2 separate regions of the Homo sapiens genome follow, and region 1 is linked to region 2. Evidence: promoter capture Hi-C in 16 types of primary human blood cells and fetal thymus (Javierre and others, 2016). All regions are on one chromosome and are shown on one strand. The core of a region is centred on a gene start or on the middle of the fragment in contact, and the rest is flanking DNA. Distances in the headings are between cores, read along the strand shown.

Region 1 (3,789 bases), core at 636-3,135, 290 kb after region 2:
TTTGTCCCCAGGTAGTTTGGTGTGTTTCTCCATACTCTGATAGTTCTTCTTAGACTCATGAAGCCATTCCCATTTCCTGGCAGAATCCCCTTTTTCTTCCTTTCGGTCTAGCAAACAAGAACTTTCCAAGTCCTCGGTGAAGGAAAAAGCCAGTGGGGTATGACTATCTCCAGCACAGTCTGGAGTATCAGGCTGGAGCAAAGATAGCTCAGTTGAAAATGGGGTTTTCATTCTGTGGTGGCCAGAAGTCTGGAGGGACTGAGGAGAGAGTCCAGCTTCCTGGATGTCTGCAGTGGTTGAAGTGGCTAAAGGGGATGCCATGCAATCGTGTGCTAAGCCTGGGATCAAATGGTCTAGCTGGGTCGCATTTTTCTTGGACTCTTTGTTGATCTGACTTTCTGTATGAGATGAAACACTCTTCTGGTCACTGCCATTTGTCTTTCCTAATAAAACAGGAATGAACAAATATTATTCTGCAGAAAAACTGCCCTAAGCAGGATTCAGTTGGCTTTTTCTGAAATCAGTATCAGCTACTATTACTACCTAGTGCAGGAGTCTTAAGACTCTTCACATAACTTTGTAGCCAATCTTCCTGTTTTCAATCTTGCCAGTCTATCATGAATAAACTCTAAAACATCAGATCTTATATTCCCTACTCAAATACATGGATACTTCCCATCACCTACCTAATAAAGTCAAACATCGCATACGATCAGACCATAGCCTACTTTACCAGCTGAGTTTTCATTTGTAGGTTTGTTTAACATACGGCACATCAGTTTTGCTTTTGTTTTTTATTTAATGTGGTTTTTTACTAAATGGTGATCCTGGTCAAATATACATTCCTAGACATTATCCTTAAAGAAACATGCTAAACACATACTAGTTTTGTAAGGTCTTAAAGATGACATTAACTATCCAACTCTGAGAAACCTTCTGGTGACAGTGTGAAAAACGTGGGTCCTCCACTCCCCAGGCATTTCATTGGAAAGGGAGTGAAGACACAATTAGGATGCTAAGTCAATCAGTAGGTAGAATAGTGAAACAACTACTAGTGTCCAGCCTGTTAATTTTATCAGGCATAGAGTGGATTCTGTTCTGCCTTAAGATAAGGATGGAGGACATGGAATTCCCAACTTGGCTCAAATTGTTCCAAGATCTAATTATAAAAACAAAGCAGAATAACTGATTTCCTCTTTCCTTCTACAATAAGAATTATACTGCAGAAACTAGGTTTTGTGAGAATTCTCAACTTTTCCTTAGCATTCAATATAGACTATAAAATACACCAGAATTTGTAAGTGGAAAAAGTGGGTTTTTTGTTTGTTTTTTTTAAATCTGCCCTTACATAAAGCAAAAGAGTGTACGTTTTTGTTTGGAGGAGGGAGAGGGCATTTTGAAGGTTTAGGCAAAGCAATCCTGAGAATCACACCCGGCATTAGAGCACTCTTCCCAACACCCTCCAAGTGGCAGGAACCCTGCTGTTTAAGGCCCAGCCTGCTCTGAGTCAGCTGCTCCCCTGAACAGGGACCTGGAAGCAAAGAACAGCCAAAGGAAGAGACATAAGCCAACTTTATGTGAGGCTAAGAAAAAGCATCTTTGAACCTTTCACTAATTTGAGAAGCGTCACACAAAAGTATCAATTATTAATTAACCTTAGACAGAGTACCCACTGTGGCCAACCCAAGATATATACCACCTAACTAATGGCAGGGCAACTCCCCAGTGCACCTCCAACTCCCAAGTACACCCTTCCTGACTGCTCTGTCAGCAAATACAAATATTTAATATTAAGCTGAGCAAAACAGAACCAGAAAAGTATGTTTGTAAAAGTACACATATATTGCTTTTCAAAAGGCAACAACTTATGTTTTATAACCTCTTCTAACAGGCTAAGTTTAACACAATGCACTGGTTTCACCATTTCTCATAAATGGTCTAACATGGACAAATGAACACACTCCTTTTTTGCTCTGGATAATGAAGTATTCCCATATGGGTCACCATACCTGGCTGCAAGGTGAAGAAGGAAGCAATGCTTCTCTGGTGAATGCCTGTAGATGGAGCTCTTCTTTGAGTAAAATAAATATTAGCCTTTCTTTCTCCAGGAAGGAGTGTTAGCATTTTGGTGCCTGGTTTGATTAAATGTGTCTGAGAAAGGAGAGAAAAAAGAATAATGAGCCTATTAATATTAAAAGACATACAGTAGAGATTCAGTACACACCAGTGATCCTCTGAGAACCACACTAGATCCTCTGTACTCCACTTATAGCCTATTCTCAAGGTAGTTGGTGCTGGACATCATCTTCCATTTCCAGCCATTGTAACGGTGTTTTTCTCAGGAATCACATATTCCAATGATAGCCCAATCTTTCTGCTTCCCCATGGAAATCAGGCTGACTAAACAAACAGGATTTGTTAACAGGATGGCAGAGATGATGCTCTTTTATATTTAAGGATAATTAATGATTCTACAGCAGCAGTTGATGCATTTTCAGTAGTTTTAAAGTAGTCACATAGTGGTGGTTAAGAGCATGGCTCAAGAATCAGTCCTTGGCCGGGCGCGGTGGCTCACGCCTGTAATCCCAGCACTTTGGGAGGCTGAGGCGGGCAGATAAGGAGGTCAGGAGTTCGAGACTAGCCTGACCAACATGGCGAAACCCCGTCTCTACTAAAAATACAAAAAAAAAAAAAAATCAGTCCTAGTTCTGCCACTGCCACTTTGCTATGTGACCTTCTCCAAGTTGCTTAATCTCATTCTTAGGTGTCAAATGACAATAATAGTACCTATCCATATGGCAGTTATGAAAATTTAGTAAGGCCAGGCGTGGTGGCTCACACCTGTAATCCCAACACTTTGGGAGGCCGAGGCGGGTGGATCACGAGGTCAGGAGTTCAAGACCAGCCTGGCCAATATGGTGAAACCCTGTCTCTACTAAAAATACAAAAATTAGCCAGGCGTGGTGGCAAGCGCCTGTAGCCCCAGCTACTTGGGAGGCTGAGGCAGAAGAATCGCTTTAACCAGGGAGGCGGAGGTTGCAATGAGCCGAGATTGTGCCACTGCACTCCAGCCTGGGCGACAGAGCAAGACTCCGTTTCAAAAAAAAAAAAGGAAAAAAGAAAATTTAGTAAATTTATTCACATAAAAGGCTTACACAGTTCCCGGCACATAGAAAACATTCAGTAGCAGTTGGCTAATATTAAGAGGAGGAGCAGTGGAACAGCACCAGTCTCACTACACTTTTAACTCAGGCGCTTTTATTCTTTAGAGAATGGAACTGGAAGATAGGCAAGAGAGGTTTGAAAAGTGAGTTGTCAACTAACTATAAATATAACCTCATCCTTATTTAATGTGATTTGTTTTTATTTCCATTTGCTTGTTAAAGAATGCCTGAGAAGTAGGGCAAATAGGATTATATTCAATTCAATTTTGCTGTGTCTGCCAAAAAACAAGTAAGATTTGCCACTATTCATGCAGCAAGTTAGAGGTAGGCCTGAATCTTGAAGCCGAGTTATTTATTCTAACTCAAAGTTGACTTCATTTTTACATTTGGAAACTAAGTTGTACTTTAAGTGGTTAAAAAAAGAAAGAAATCATGGGGGTAAATTCATACTTCAACATGTTGTGTTGCTGGTACAGAATCTTCTCTTCCACCACATACAACTAGAAAACTGGATCAAAGATACATGAAAAAATTGATATAAACAGCAGACAACAGGCAGTAAAGAATTGTGATCCTTGAGAAAAGGGAAACAAATAAGGTGAGCCCTGTGATCATTCCAGCTTTC
Region 2 (3,341 bases), core at 686-3,185:
GGTTCTCAAGAACAGGATTCAGCCATTCCAACTCCTGTTATTTAGTCCTTAAGGACAGCCCTGTGAAATAGATATAGTTGTCCCTTTTACAGATGAGGCTCAGAAGGGTGAGTTCACAACCACCAGAAGGACAGCTGGGTTCTAACCCCTGGCATTATACTCTACCCCATTGCCTATGGGCCTGAGTCTGATCCCAGTCTCTGACTCTCGGAGACTATCAGTGAATGCTTCCCTCCCTGACCTAGGGCTGTCATCTGTAAAGTGGGTCCACCTAAGCAGTGTTGCTGGGGAAGCCAAGGACAGACTGGCTAACAAAGCACTTGGTTTATAAACAGGGGAATGTCAGTGAGGCCGCCCTATCCAGCTGGGGACAGCACAGCACTATCTTTCTCCCGACACAGAGAGGACTGCTGGCTTCTGAGCCAGGAGTAATTACAGAGGTTGAAGTTGGCCTTGCCTGAGGCACCCCCTTCTAAAAGAAGCCAGGCTGTGGCTTGGATGTGTGTGTCCTCCCTCTGGCTCCTTTTGGCACAGTTTGAAAGGAAGGCATGGCATCCTAGAGAGTTAGAACAAATCCTTCCAATCCTGGAGTTAGAACATCTGTGCCTGAGCAATTCTGGGGTTCAGACTGCCCTCCGAATGCTCCTAGGAAGCAGCTTGGGGTCAGGGTCAAGGTCATGCAGATTCTTGACCCTGGCAGGTTGGAAGGATCACTAGAGATAGCATTGACTCTCATTCACAGATAAACAAGACTCAGAGAGGGGAAGTACTTGCCTGAGGTCACACAGCAAGTCAGTGTCAGGGGCACGTTCCAGATCATACCATCTGTGAGGCTACCTGGGAAGTTGCGGGGGCATGGGGTGGCCCAGCATGCTCAGGTGGTGCCAGGGAGCAGCCTGGGAGCTACGAGGATGAGTAAAGTGCCTGGCTGGACTTGCTAAAGGCAAATTTTTATATACCGACCCTGCGCCTAACAAGGGTCTATACTGCAAGCTTGTCCAACCTGTGGCCCACTGGCCATGTGAGGTCCAGGACGGCTTTGAATGGAGCCCAACACAAATTGGTAAAGGTTCTTAAAACATTATGAGATTTTTTTGGGCAGGGTGTGGTGGCTCACAGCCATCCCAGCACTTTGGGAGGCTGAGGCGGGCAGATCACTTGAGGTCAGGAGTTCGAGACCAGCCTGGCCAACATGGTAAAACTCCATCTCTATTAATAATACAAAAATTAGCCAGGCATGGTGGTGCATGCCTGTAATCCCAGCTACTCGGGAGGCTGAGGCATGAGAATAGCTTGAACCCGGGAGGTAGAGGTTGCAGTGACCCGAGATCGCACCACTGCACTCCAACCTGGGCAACAGAGTGAAACTCTGTCTCAGGGGAAAAAAAACAATACAGAAAAACAAAAAACATGAGTGTGTGTGTATATATATATATTTCAGCTCATCAGCTGTCGTTAGTGTTAGTGTATTTCATGTGTGGCCCAAGACACTTCTTCTTCCAATGTGGCCTAAGGAAGCCAAAAGTTTGGATATCCCTGGCTTACAGCCTCCACTATTTCCTAAGTCTCCCACTGCCCTGGACATCGCATTGCTTTTGTCCCTGAACAAGATCTTTCACCACTGGAGGAGCCCTCAGTCTCCCCATCTGTAAAATGGTCACTGGAAATCCTAGGCCGCTGCTCTCAGGCCCTCAGGCCCCTACGGGGTGGGGATTGGGGAAAAGGAGGAAAGCGGGGGCGTCTAGGGCTTGCGATTTGCTATCTTCTGGCGCCTTCGGGCGGCCTCGGAAACTCTTGGTGCCTGGACCTGGAGCCTGGACAGGGACCGGGCGGGGCGAGACCGGCCGTCGGGGGCGCGGCCCGTCTGGGGGCGGGGCCTGTCCTCTCTCGCCCCGCCCCGTCGGACGCCGCGGCGGAGCTGGCGCTGGGAGGGGAGGAGCGCGCAGCCCGCGCGCCGCAGGGCCGGGCGGAAAGTTTTTCCTGACGGAGTTTTGGCTGCGGCAGCGGCGGCGGCGGCCGGAGCGGGCCATGGACGCGCTCAAGTCGGCGGGGCGGGCGCTGATCCGGAGCCCCAGCTTGGCCAAGCAGAGCTGGGGGGGCGGTGGCCGGCACCGCAGTGAGTGTGCGCGCGTCAGCCGGGCCGGGCCGGGATCGGGCAGAGGCGCGCGGGGCCTCCGCGGGCGCCCGGAGTGCGGCCAAGTTGGGCAGAGGCGGGGCCTCACCGGCGCTCCGGTCCCGGCGTGGCCCTTTCCCGGCCCTGCGGGGCAGGGGGTCGGCCGGGGTCAAGTTGTGCACCTACTCGCCGGCCGCTCGATGCCGCTGCGAGGAGGGGCAGCGCTGAGGAAGGAGCCCGAGCTCGGGGTCCTCAGGTGCAGCCGGCATGGGGTGGGGTGCAGGTTGGGAGAAGAGGCCCCCGCCACCCGCGGCACCTCCCGCCCTGCTGTCCTGGCCAGCTAGGGGGAGGCAGGCGCTCGTCGTCGGTGCCTAGGGGAGGAGGAGAGGGCGCAGGGGCTTGGGAAGACGCCCCCGTCCCGCACCCCTGCGCCCCAGCCAGCAGCTGCGGCGGTCAGGAGCCCACTGGCCCGTTCTCCCGCCCCCTGCCCGACCCACCGGGCCAACTTTTGACTCCGGGTGCCCAGACACCCATCCAGGTGTGAGCCCGGGGTCGCAGGTACGTACTTGAAATTGGGAACGAGGCCCCGCCTGGGGTGCCTCGGGAGAGCCCCACATCAGGCGATCTAGACCCTTACGTCCCTTCCTCTAGCCGGGTCCAGGTGGCAAGCCTGGCGTCCCGACTATTTTTGAAACCTGTTTTCTCTCGCACCTTTCCCCTCGGGCTTCCAGAGTCCCTTGGGTGCCCAGGCAAACGACAGACTCGCCGCCACCTCTCCCTGGGGCGTCTGGGAGGCTGGGAGGGGCCTCCCCCCCTTTCTCTCCCCCAGTCTCTGATTACGCTCAGGGAACTTGTCACCTGGCACCTTCCCCTGAAGCCAGAAGACCCAGCCTAGCGCAGGTCTCGTTGTTTGGGAGGGAGAAGAGAGTGGCTTGCCTGGGGTCACACACACCTTCCTGCTGGTTTTGGAGCCAGAGCCCAGGACTGCTGCACACTCCCACCTCCCTGCCACCTACTTCGGGCCACAGCTTCTCCCCTCATCAGGAAACAACTGACAGTACAGCACCCCCTCATCCCATCCCCTCTTGGCCTTACAGGGCTCTGCCAGGGGAGCCCGAGCTCCCTGGTCCAAGGAGTGCCAGCGTGTCTGGGCCTAGAGGGCCCGCCTCCCTCCTCCTCTGGCCCCACTCTGTTGTTCAGCTGTGGCCGCCTCCCAGCTGAGACTGGC

Evidence for each region. Contacts are between HindIII fragments. The CHiCAGO score rates a contact against its expected background, and 5 or more counts as called.
Region 1: a contact is called between a fragment that was not itself captured here and the fragment with the promoter of LDLRAP1 in region 2, in 1 of 17 cell types (total CD4 T cells). The highest score is 5.5, in total CD4 T cells.

The regions. Positions count from the first base shown.
Region 1 is chr1:25,835,404-25,839,192 of GRCh38, forward strand. AUNIP (aurora kinase A and ninein interacting protein) reads right to left here. Exons shown (of 3, transcript NM_024037.3): 2 at 2,010-2,151; 3 at 1-443. Among named protein-coding and RNA genes, the nearest start is that of MTFR1L, 17 kb to the left of the region's middle. The HindIII fragment of the contact is 4,616 bases long and covers 1-3,789 here.
Region 2 is chr1:25,541,671-25,545,011 of GRCh38, forward strand. LDLRAP1 (low density lipoprotein receptor adaptor protein 1) reads left to right here and starts at 1,936. Exons shown (of 9, transcript NM_015627.3): 1 at 1,936-2,116. The coding sequence starts at 2,029. RefSeq lists an enhancer at 1,606-1,665 and silencers at 1,766-2,225, 2,256-2,435. The HindIII fragment of the contact is 5,608 bases long and covers 992-3,341 here.